Regions from separate parts of the Homo sapiens genome. Here region 2 is linked to region 1. Evidence: promoter capture Hi-C in 16 types of primary human blood cells and fetal thymus (Javierre and others, 2016). All regions are on one chromosome and are shown on one strand. The core of a region is centred on a gene start or on the middle of the fragment in contact, and the rest is flanking DNA. Distances in the headings are between cores, read along the strand shown. Region 1 holds the start of DACT3-AS1 (DACT3 antisense RNA 1). Region 2 holds the start of TMEM160 (transmembrane protein 160).

Region 1 (6,277 bases), core at 2,938-5,437:
TCCTGCCTTGGGTTCATATCTCAGAGATGAAGAGATATAAGACCTGTGCTGAATGGGAATCCACTCCCGTTGGAGACCTCAGAGGGAGGCTCTTTCAAGAGCCCTGGAAGCAGACGAGGCTGCAATTGTAGACAGCTCTCCCAAGAACCTTGGGTTAAGCAGACAACATCATGAGACAGCCTGCTCCTGGAATCAGAAACTCCAGGATTCCCTCCCACACACGCTATTTTAGAGACAGGGTCTCACCATGTTGCCCAGGTTGGCCTTGAACTCCTGAGCTCACACAATCCTCCTGCTTCTGTCTTCTGGGTAGCTGGTACTACAGGTGCATGTCACAGAGCCTGGCTAGGATTCCCCATTTTAATACCCACTCTGGTCCTCCCGTGCCTGCTTCTCATCATATGACTTTTGCCTTTCATTTGCATTCTCTCTCTCTTTATTTATTTATTTATTTAGAGACAGAGCCTCCCTCTGTTGCCCAGGTTGGAGTGCAGTGGCGTGATCTCGGCTCAGTGCAACCTCCACCTCCCAGGTTCAAACGATTCTCCTGCCTCAGCCTCCCAAGTAGCTGGGATTACAGGCGTGCACCACCACACCCAGCTAATTTTTATATTTTTAGTAGAGACGGGGTTTCGCCATGTTGGCCAGGCTGGTCTTGAACTCCTGACCTCAAATGATCTGCCTGCCTCTGCGTCCCAAAGTGCTGGGATTACAGGCATGAGCCACCCCACCCGGCCTCATTTGCATTCTCTTTGACTGATCTTTGATTACATGCTTCTCAGATCACAATTCTCCAGCTGTAACTTCTGTCTCTTCCCAAATGACACATCTCCCCTCCCTATTCTACCTTCCAGCCTGCAAGATCCACAATGCCCCTGGCTTACTTTTGCAAAAGTGTTTACTCAGTCTTACAACTGCAATTAGGATTGTCAGTTTTGTTCCCCTTTCTCAGCACAAATCACTACTCCCAGGGCCCCATCCCCTTCACTCGCACCACCAAAGCCTTTGGATGGAGCACTGTGCCCTACACGCCTTCCTCAAAGGCCTCTCCCAACGCACCACTCGATTTTTATGGGAACCTCTTCCCATCCCTACCATCTATAAATCAAGGTCTATGAGCTTCTGCAACTTCATTAACAGCCCCTGCATGGGACTCAGTCTCTGTAATCACAATTTTTTTTTTTTTTTTTAAAGATTGGGTCTTGCTCTGTCACCCAGGCTGGAGTGCAATGGTGCAATCATGGCTCACTGTAGCCTCAGCCTCCCAGGCTCAAGTGATCCTCCTGCCTCAGCCTCCTGAGTAGCTCGCACTACAGGTACATGCCACCATATCCAGTTTGTGTGCCATGTTTGGAAGCAACTGTTGCTTGTTGATTCTCCAGACATCTATCTTTCTTTCTCTCTCTCTTTCTTTTTCTTTCTTTCTTTCTCTCTCTCTCTCTCTCAATTTCTTTCTTTCTTTCTTTTTTTGAGACGGAGTCTCCCTCTGTTACCCAGGCTGGAGTGCAGTGCCACAGTCTCGGTGTGTGCCATCATGCCCAGCTAATTTTTGTATTTTTAGTACAGATGGGGTTTCGCCATGTTGGCCAGGCTGATCTGAACTCCTGAACTCAGGTGATCTGCCCGCCTCAGCCTCCCAAAGTACTGGGATTACAGACGTGAGCCACTGCGCCTGGCTGATTCTCCAGAAATCTTTTGGCATCATCATTAATAAAAGCATCAAGAAGTCAAAAAGGAAATCAAGTGATCCTCCCGCCTCAGCCTCCCAAGTAGCTGGGGCTACAGGTGTGCACCACCACACCCGACTAATTTTCTAAGTCTATTTTGAACAAGAGGAAGACTGAATAAAGGTTGTCTCTAATAAATTTCAAGACATTTCCCCCCGGAAACTTACTAGATTAGTTTTTAAACTTATTTGTCAAACCCTTCTGTGGCTCTTAATCCATGGAAGACACTGCTCCAAGTACCTAATACATTTCATTGAATCCTCAGAACAACTGTATGAGGCAGCCAGTATTATGATCCCGTGATCAGATGAAGAAACGGTGGCACAGAGAGGTTAAGTAAGTTTTCCAAGGTCACACAGCTGGAAAGTGACAGATCTGTGACTCACCCCGAGGAAGTCTGGCTCCTGGAGACTTTGCTGTCTATCGCCACTATCAATTTCTCTCCATCTCACCACCAGAAGGTCACTTCGTGCACGGGGAATCATAAAAGAGGGAATTTCTTGTATGATCTTCTGGGCCTTGGCTTTTAGGGAGCCAAGGTCTGTCTGAGAGATGAGTATGAATATTAGAGCTAGGTCTTGGAAGTTGGTAGAGGCAGGCTCGGCGTAGTGATACAGATTGGCCGCCTGAGGGTGCCCCAGCCCTGCTTGCGGAGCCTGGAGAGACAGCAGGAAGCCTTGGAAACGAATGTCAGGCTCAGACTCCTAGGACCAGAGAACGTTGAGAATAGAGCATCATAGAAGGCTGAGAACAAAGCCCCTTAGAACGTAGAACAAAGGCCCCTGGAATGGAAGAATGATGAGCACACATCCTCCTAGCACCTGGGAGACAAAAGCTGCTTAGACTCTCTTCTGGTCAAAGCATAGAATCTTCCACCCAGGGTCTTATAATTCCAGAATTTGGAATGCAATCGATCTTAGACTCTTAGCAGCAAGACCGGCTACATATTTGGCCTAGTGCAAAGTGAAAATAAGGGGCCCCTTGCTCAAAAACTAAAAATTTCAAGACAGAAATTGCAGAACATTCAACCAAGCGCGAAGACCCTTCTAAGTGGATTCCAAGCCGGTGAAGCCGGCCCTAAGTAGAAACAATTTCATCGGAGGACGTCCGTCTGGTTTTACAGCTGAGTGTCTGGGAAGGCTTCTTGGAAGAGGAGGCGAAGTCAGGGCTCGACCCCCTAACCCTTTTCTCCCCCTGCGCAGCCTCAGAAGCTGAAGGTTGGGCGGGGTGGAGGGGTAGGAGCAGCTGCCAAACTGTCACGTGTACCCATTCCCTATTTATAGATCACCCTTCCCCTCGCGCCGGACAGTCCAATGGTAGCCAGCGCTCGCCCGCAAGAGGGTGGAACCTGCTGCAGGACCGGCCAGGCACAGACCAATGGCATTGAAGCAAGGGCGGGCTTGTTTCATTGTGACGCGTGGGGGGGCGTGGCCAGGGCCCCGAGGCAGTTGCACGGAGGGGGCGTGGCGAGCGGAGTGAGTAGGCAGTTGCGAGCATGCGTCGTGTTGGGCGGTGCGGTTGCACGCCCGAGAGTCTTCGTCAGGAAGCTTATTCGCCAATAGGCGGCTGTTGCTCGGTCGCCGGGGGCGTGGCCATGCAGATAAGGCGCGGGTGGGCGGCCCAATGGGCGGGCGCCTATGCAGATGAGACGGTGACAGCCCGGCCAGCGGGCGGGCGGGCAGGCTGCTGGGGCGGGGAGGTGGGACCGGGAGAGGGGTGGCCGCGGGGCCCGGCCGGGCTGGGGCGGGGGGCCGCAGCCATGATCCGGGCCTTCTCGTTCCCGGTGAGCCCTGAGCGGGGCCGGCTGCGGGGCTGGCTGGAGGGTAGCCTGGCCGGGCTCTGCGAGTTACATTGGCTCCGGGAGAGGCAGGAGTACCGCGTGCAGCAGGCGCTGCGGCTGGCCCAGCCCGGAATGGGGGGCGCCGAGGCCGAGGACGAGGAGGACGCCGATGAGGATGAAGATGCGGCGGCGGCGCGCCGGGCCGCAGCGGCCCTGGAGGAGCAGCTGGTAAGGGGCTGCCTGTCCGTCCGTCCCTCCACCCCCGTCTGTGTCTGTCTGTCTCGGTTGGATGCTCAGACACCGGGCGGGGGTTGGGGACCCGGGTAGGCAGGGAGTGAGAAAGGACAGGGGGTGGGGCTGGCGACCCCGGAGTTCCGGCGGCGGGCCGGACCTGGCCTCCCCGCCCCCAAATCGGGGGAGGGGGAACTGCATCGCCCCCACTGGGGCCTCGTGAGAAACACAGGCCCTGTCTCTTACACCCCTTCCCCAAAGAAAATCCTTGTGGGCGCCAAGTATGTGTCAAACCCGAGACCGGGTACTTTGCAGGCGTTGTCTTCTTGCGGCTTGGGAAACGGGGTGATAGTCCCCATTTAACAGAGAAACAAATTGAGGCTCAGAGAGAGCAAGCGACTCACCCAAGGTGACACAGCCAGGCTCCAAACATGCCCTTCTCTGGGCCCCGCCACCAGGGCTCCATCTTCCCTAAGTCCTGGTGTGCTTGGAGATCTCTGGAGGGGGCGGGGTGGGAGGAGGGGAATCTCAGGGCCTCCAGAGGGAGGGACCACTGCTGAGAGGAAGCTCACAGTCCCTGAGGACCCCCCACTGGGATCTTGACCCTTTGGTGACACTTCCCCTGCTTCCTACCTGGCCCCAGCTCTCCTTGACCCAAGGGGAGGCAGGTCGAGGCAGCGCCTGGGGGAGACTTCTGGACTCTGGGTGTTCTCATGGTGGAAGATGGGCAGAGGTCTCCGGAATGACTTGAGGACGCCCCATGCCTCTCCCCTTTCTATGTCATTCCTTGAGTCTCCCGATCTCGTCCTGGGTTCTGTCACTCTCTCCGTCCTGCCACATCCCTGTGACTTTCTGTGTCTGCTTCTCTTTCTTCATCCTGTCTCTCTGTCTCTGTGATCTCTGTGTCCCTCTGCATCTGTCTCCTTGGCCTTCCCTTCCTGCCTGTCTGCACCTCGCTCTCTTCTTCTTGCCCGACGTCCCAGGCTCAGTCTGTCTTCCCCTCCCCCCAGCCCGCACACCCTGGCTCCACGGCAGATCCCCATCCCCAAGCCTGTGTGTGGCCAGAGCTTCCCGTTTCGGGAAACCTGAGCCGAGGTGGCAGTGGAGGGGGCTCTCCCCGCCGCTGACCTCGACCGCCCCCTCCCCAGATGGGGAGTGGGGAGGAAGACTGAAGCCAGGCTCCCGGGGCTGCACGCCCGGCCCCTCCCCCTCTCAGGAGTGGGACCCCCCTGCACATTCTTTTCTGGAAACAGAAACAGCTGTGGGAGGCCCCACCCCCTCCCAAAGTTAGAGACGGATTGTGGGGGCCTTCGCTAGCTCCCCCCACCCCAAGCTGGCTCGGCTTGGAAGGCGCCTTCCATCCTGACAAGGAGAATGCGAGGCATGAGGTTGGGGTAGCTGTGGGTAGCTGTGTCCTCTCCCCCTCTGCCCTCGGTCTCTCCCCTTTTCACCCTTCACCTTCCCCATCTCTGCCCTTCAGTCTCCCTCTCCTCGGTCCCTCTGTCCCCTCCTCCCCCTCAGCCCTCTGTCCTCCCGGCACGAGCTGATAGTGGAGAGGCCTGTCCCCCCACCCCCCAGTCTCTAGGCAAAGCTTGTCCCAGCATCAGGGAGGAGGCGGTGGCAGGCGGGGGGAGGAGGAGGAGCAGAGAAGCGCTAAATATAAACTTCTCTAGTGCTGGGGGTTCCTGGGTCCCTCTGAAGAGTGGATTAGGGCTTCTTCTGATCCCCCAACCCTTGTCTTATGACTTATCCCCCCACCCCCAGCCCCTGCCAGGAATACACTTCCTTCAAGGCAAGAAAGACTGAAGCCAGACTTGATTACTTTCTAATAGGAATGATGGGGATACCAGGTAAAGATCAGGGGTGTGGCAGAGAAGAGAGGCAGGAATCCTGGGTGAGGGCAGGGGCTCCCTGGGTCCTGCTTGCTCTCAAGAAGGAAAAAGGTTCCTTTCATCAAGAATAACTTAAGTTAGACTTGCAGAATGACTTCCTAATAGAGATAAATGGGCACTGGATACCAACGAGGGGCACGTGAGGGGAGAAACAAGGTAAGGGAAGTTTGGGCAAAGGGGTCTCCAGGGGTCCTAACCACACTCTTATTAAGCCTGCAGAGGAAGGATGAGGGGCACCGTGAGGAGGCAGAGAGCCAGACTCAGGCCAAGGACTTTCTAATCTTTTAAAGATTCATCCTTTTGCAACTGGAAGGAATGAGGCCAGACTTGCAAATAGAGGGGTGTAGACTTGGAATATTTTTGGGGGGCGTCTAGGTGCTGGAGAGGAGGAGGCATCTCCTGTCTGTCTCCCTAATTTCTGCTCTTCCTTGTAATGGAAGAACCGGAATTAGACTTGGCAGAACTTACCAAAAAGTCTATCCTTTCACGTTTATTTATGTATTTTTAAATGATATATTTATTTATTCATTTATTTTTGGAGACAAAGTCTCTCAGGCTGAAGTGCAGTGGCACGATCATAGCTCACTGCAGCCTCTAACTTGGCCTCAAGCAATCCTCCTGCCTCAGCCTCCCAAGAAGCTAGGACT
Region 2 (6,060 bases), core at 2,709-5,208, 390 kb before region 1:
CTCTACTCCTTCCTTGGCAACCGATCATGCACCCCTTACCATCTCATTAAAACCTAATCACCCTTACCCTGCTCAATGGGTAAGGCCTTTTAAGCCTATAAACTCTCCTTACAATTCCCCCATTTTACCTGTCCTAAAACCAGACAAGCCTTACAAGTTAGTTCAGGATCTGTGCCTTATCAACCAAATTGTTTTGCCTATCCACCCCATGGTGCCAAACCCATATACTCTCCTATCCTCAATACCTCCCTCCACAACCCATTATTCTGTTCTGGATCTCAAACATGCTTTCTTTACTATTCCTTTGCACCCGTCATCCCAGCCTCTCTTCGCTTTCACTTGGACTGACCCTGACACCCATTAGGCTCAGCAAATTACCTGGGCTGTACTGCCGCAAGGCTTCACAGACAGCCCCCATTACTTCAGTCAAGCCCAAATTTCATCCTCATCTGTTACCTATCTCAGCATAATTCTTCATAAAAACACACGTGCTCTCCCTGCTGATCGTGTCCAATTAATCTCCCAAACCTCAATCCCTTACAAAACAACTCCTTTCCTTCCTAGGCATGGTTAGTGTGGTCAGAATTCTTACACAAGAGCCAGGACCGCACCCTGTAGCCTTTCTGTCCAAACAACTTGACCTTACTGTTTTAGCCTAGCCCTCATGTCTGCATGCAGCGGCTGCCGCTGCTTTAATACTTTTAGAGCCCTAAAAATCACAAACTATGCTCAACTCACTCTCTACATTTCTCATAACTTCCAAAATCTATTTTCTTCCTCATACCTGACGCATGTACTTTCTGCTCCCCGGCTCCTTCAGCTGCACTCACTCTTAAGTCCCACAATTACCATTGTTCCTGGCCCGGACTTCAATCTGGCCTCCCACATTATTCCTGATACCACACCTGACCCCCATGACTGTATCTCTCTGATCCACCTGATATTCACCCCATTTCCCCATATTTCCTTCTTTCCTGTTCCTCACTCTGATCACGCTTGATTTATTGATGGCAGTTCCACCAGGCCTAATCGCCACACACCAGCAAAGGCAGGCTATGCTATAGTACAAGCCATGAGCCCGCCTCTTAGAACCTCTCATTTCCTTTCCATCGTGGAAATCTGTCCTCAAGGAAATCACTTCTCAGTGTTCCATCTGCTGTTCTACTACTCCTCAGGGATTATTCAGGCCCCCTCCCTTCCCTACACATCAAGCTCAGGGATTTGCCCCCACCCAGGACTGGCAAATTAGCTTTACTCAACATGCCCCGAGTCAGGAAACCAAAATACCTCTTAGTCTAGGCAGACACTTTCACTGGATAGGTACAGGCCTTTTCTACAAGGTCTGAGAAGGCCACCGCAGTCATTTCTTCCCTTCTGTCAGACATAATTCCTCAGTTTAGCCTTCCCACCTCTATACAGTCTGATAACAGACCAGCCTTTATTAGTCAAATCAGCCAAGCAGTTTTTCAGGCTCTTAGTATTCAGTGAAACCTTTATATCCCTTACGGTCCTCTGTCTTCAAGAAAAGTAGAACGGACTAAAGGTCTTTTAAAAACACACCTCACCAAGCTCAGCCACCAACTTAAAAAGGACTGGACAATACTTTTACCTCTTTTGCTTCTCAGAATGCTGCAGGGTACAGCCTATTTGAGCTCCTGTATGGACAATCCTTTTTATTAGGCCCCAGTCTCATTCCAGACACCGGACCAACTTAGACTGTGCCCCAAAAAAACTTGTCATCCCTACTATTTTCTGTCTAGTCATACTCCTATTCTCCGTTCTCAACTACTCATACGTGCCCTGCTCTTGTTTACACTGCTGGTTTACACTGTTTCTCCAAGCCATCACAGCTGATATCTCCTCATGCTATCCCCAAACTGCCACTCTTAACTCCTGAAGTAAACAAATAATCTTTGCTGGCAGGACTATGCTGAATCTCCTTAGGCACTCTCTAATCAGATGTCCTAGGTCCTCCCAATTCTTAGACCTTTTATACCTGTTTTTCTCCTTCTCTTATTCCATTTAGTTTTTCAATTCATACAAAACTGTACCCAGGCCATCACCAATACTTCTACACAACAAATGTTTCTTCTAACAACCCCACAATATCACCCCTTACCACAAAATCTTCCTTCAGCTTAATCTCTCCCACTTTAGGTTCGCACGCCGCCCCTAATCCTGCTTGAAGCAGCCCCGAGAAACATCGCCCATTCTCTCTCCATACCACCCCCCAAGACTTCAACACTATTTTGTTTTATTTTTCTTATTAATAAAAGAAGGCAGAAATGTCAGGCCTCTGAGCCCAAGCCAAGCCATCGCATCACCTGTGACTTGCACGTATACATCCAGATGGCCTGAAGTAACTGAAGATCCACAAAAGAAGTAAAAATAGCCTTAACTGATGACATTCCACCATTGTGATTTGTTCCTGCCCCACCTAACTGATCAATGTACTTTGTAATCTCCCCCACCCTTAAGAAGGTTCTTTGTAATTCTCCCCACCCTTGAGAATGTACTGTGTGAGATCCACCCCTGCCCGCAAAACATTGCTCTTAACTTCACCGCCTATCCCAAAACCTCTAAGAACTAATGATAATCCACCACCCTTTGCTGACTCTCTTTTCGGACTCAGCCTGCCTGCAGCCAGGTGAAATAAACAGCCATCTTGCTCACACAAAGCCTGTTTGGTGGTCTCTTCACATGGACGCGCATGAAACGATTCTCCTGCCTCAGCCTCACAAGTAGCTGGGATTACAGGTGCCTGCCACCATGCCTAATTTTTGTATTTTTAGTAGAGATGGGGTTTCACCATGTTGGTCAGGCTGGTCTCGAACTCCTGATCTCGTGATCTGCCCGCCTCAGACTCCCAAAGTGGTGGGATTACAGATGTGAGCCACCGTGCCTGGCCCGGGCTTGGATTTTATGAAGAGGAAAAGTAGGGGAGCTAGCAAGGGGGTTACACTTGAGGAGGGAGTTCAAATGGACTGCACTGCATAGCCTGCAGGCTTGCAATGAATGTGAAGCTTTAAATGGGATTAAGTGCAAATTGAAAATATTCCAGACACATTTTTCACATTCCTGGCTAGTGAAAAGGTTTATGCTGATGAGAGAAGGCAAAGCTGAATCCCGGAATGGGTTAGGGCAAAGAAAACAAATCTGTCTTAAAGAGACAGACCTGGCCGGGCACGGTGGCTCACGCCTGTAATCCCAGCACTTTTGGAGGCCGAGGCGGTTGGATCACTTGAGGTCAGGAGTTCGAGACCAGCCTGGCCAACATGGTGAAACCCTGTCTCTACTAAAGATACAAAAATTAGCTGGGCGTGGTGGCGCATGCCTATAATCCCAGCTACTCAGGAGGCTGACGCAGGAGAATCGCTTGAACCCGGGAGGTGGAGGTTGCAGTGAGCCGAGATCGCACCACTGCACTCCAGCCTGGGCGACAGAGCAAGACTCGGTCTCGGGGCGGGGAAAAAAAAGGAAGGAGGGAAGGAAGGAAGGAGGGGAGGGAAGGGAGGGAGGGAGGGAAAAAGAAAGAGAGAAAGAAAGAAAGAAGGAAAGAAAGAAAGAGAAAGAAAGAAAAAGAAAGAAAGAAAGAAAGAGAAAGAAAGAAAGAGAAACAACCAAGAAACAACTACAATAGGTGCTCGGCATGTACTCCGTTAAAAAAGATAGAATTAAAACTACAATTCCCAGCAGACATCTCGCCTGCGACTTCTGAATATCGGCTTTCCCCGAGCGCAATGATCGCTGGGATTCGTAGTCCGGTACAAAATCAAGGAGGGACGGGCACTACCGGCCTAGATGACAGAGGAGGGAATCACTGCCATTCCGACCAATGGACAGTTCACGCCGGACCTGAGTGGCGAGCGCATAGCCAATGGGTAAGCCATTCATCCTGAGTGACATGGGTTGCAACCTACCGGAGGCCGGTGGGGCGGTACGGCGCGCGGCGGCCGTAGTGCGAATCATGGGAGGCGGCTGGTGGTGGGCTCGGGCCGCTCGCCTTGCCCGTCTTCGCTTCCGGAGGTCGCTACTGCCGCCTCAGCGGCCCCGGAGCGGGGGCGCCCGGGGGTCCTTCGCCCCCGGCCACGGTCCCCGCGCCGGGGCTTCGCCGCCCCCAGTGTCCGAGCTGGATCGTGCGGACGCCTGGCTCCTCCGAAAAGCGCACGAGACAGGTCGGTGGCTAGGGGTGGGGGCGGTGCGGATGGGACGGGGGTCCCGGGCTCGCGTGGGACCTTGATGGGGCGGGGGCTTCTGCAGGAAACGGGGCCCGGGCTCGGCTCCGAGAAGGGCTTCAGTGTGAGCGCACGGAAGCGCAGACTGCAAGAGCGCAGGTGCCCGCAGAGGGGATGGGCTTGCGGGGAGGACGAGGACCCCGGGTAACGGGGCGCCGTAGGGATTGGAGGGGGTGGTAGGGTTGCGCGAGGCAGCCTCGTAGAATCGCGCCTGCCGTGGGGAGAGGGGCTTCAGGGAGAGCTTAGGGTCTGTGGAGTTGGGTACAAGATGGGTCCATCCCGATTGCAGAGGCCACCACTGTGCAGAGAGCGGGAGTGTGGATCCCCGCAGAAGAGGGGGAAGTTCAGGATTGGAGAAGGGGACAACCAATCGGGAGAAAGCTCTCTGCTGATTGGAGGGGGAGGTGATCTAGGCTGCAGAGGGCGGGGCTTGTGACGGAGGCGAGGTCCAGAATGGAGCGGACTGGCCATGTTTGTTTTTTTTTTAATTTTATTTTTTTAATGACGGTGTCTTGCTCTGTCACCGAGGCTGGACCGCAGTGGCGCAATCGTAGCCCACTGCAGCCTTGAACTCCTGGGCTCAAGCTATCCTCTTGCCTCAGCCTCCTGCTTAGCTGGAGCTACAGGCATACACCACCGCACCCAACTATTTTAATTTATGTAGAGACGGGGTCTTGCTTTGTTGCCCAGGCTGGTCTGAACTCTTGGGCTCAGAGAATCCTCCTGCCTTGGCTTCCCAAAGTGCTGGGATTATAGGTGTGAGTCACCTCACTAGGCCAGGACCGGGCATCTAGATATAGGGTGTGGTGGGCTGTTTGTAAAGGACGTGAATGGGGACGGACGTGGGTGGGATTGGCCCAGGCCATACTCGGTAGGACATGGATGGGATTGGCCCAGGCCATACTCGGTAGGAGATGGCGGCATTTGAAGGAAAAGAAGGGCGAGGCTGAAGAGCGGCCTGGATTAGGAAACAGTTTGTCCCAGAGTTCTGAGAAAGAAGTGAGTGGGCAGGCCGTGGGGGTACACGTAGAGGGAGGGGTTTGGCCAAGATGACTCCTCAGATGGAGGTTCTGCAACTTTGCCCCTAGATTGTCCTCCACATTCTGCAGGGACTATCTTGAATCCTTTATTTTTTTTGAGACGGAGTCTCACTCTGTCGCCCAGGCTGGAGTGCAGTGGCATGATCTTGGCTCGCTGCAACCTCTACCTCCTGGATTCAAGTGATTCTCCTCCCTCAGCTTCCTGAGTAGCTGGGACTACAAGCACGTGCTACCACACCCTGCTAATTTTAACATTTTTAGTAGAGACAGGGTTTGACTATGTTGGCCAGGCTGGTCTCAAACTCCTGACCTCATGATCCGCCTGCCTTGGCCTCCCAAAGTGCTGGGATTACAGGGGTGAGCCACCACACCCGGCCCTTGAATCCTTAGTGTTACAGAGTTTGGGGGAGAGGGGCACTGAGGTGGAGGCCAGAGAGGATGTGGGGGGATATGGTTAGGTGAGCGGCTTCCTGGAAGAGGTGAGGATTTGGGATGGGCTTGCCTTGCGGCTGGATGGGATGGGGTGAGCTGAAGGGAGGCCCCTCAGTTTGACTGGGTAAGGGGGATTGAGGAGGTAGGGTTGGGGGTGATGTTAATCCCCCCATGTCCCCCTCCCTCCAGCCTTCCTCTCCTGGTTCCGCAATGGCCTCCTGGCATCGGGCATCGGGGTCATCTCCTTCATGCAGAGTGACATGGGTCGGGAAGCAGCATATGGTGAGTGCAGACCCCCCCTCTCGCCCCACGGAACCAGGGAATGCAGAGCCCCTATCACCTGCCCTGGTGAG

What was found. The method cuts DNA at HindIII sites, captures the fragments that hold promoters and counts their contacts. A CHiCAGO score of 5 or more calls a contact.
Region 2: a contact is called between the fragment with the promoter of TMEM160 here and the fragment with the promoter of DACT3-AS1 in region 1, in 1 of 17 cell types (activated CD4 T cells). The highest score is 5.1, in activated CD4 T cells.

Annotation. Positions count from the first base shown.
Region 1 is chr19:46,658,274-46,664,550 of GRCh38, reverse strand. It overlaps DACT3-AS1 (DACT3 antisense RNA 1), which reads right to left and starts at 4,187. Exons shown (of 3, transcript NR_040042.1): 1 at 4,143-4,187. It overlaps DACT3 (dishevelled binding antagonist of beta catenin 3), which reads left to right and starts at 3,369. Exons shown (of 4, transcript NM_145056.3): 1 at 3,369-3,735. The coding sequence starts at 3,487. RefSeq lists silencers at 2,992-3,111, 3,322-3,571. The HindIII fragment of the contact is 2,055 bases long and covers 3,277-5,331 here.
Region 2 is chr19:47,046,522-47,052,581 of GRCh38, reverse strand. TMEM160 (transmembrane protein 160) reads left to right here and starts at 3,958. Exons shown (of 3, transcript NM_017854.2): 1 at 3,958-4,175; 2 at 5,897-5,989. The coding sequence starts at 3,968. RefSeq lists enhancers at 2,498-3,015, 3,016-3,533, 3,657-3,951, 4,461-4,530 and a silencer at 3,991-4,180. The HindIII fragment of the contact is 7,920 bases long and covers 3,026-6,060 here.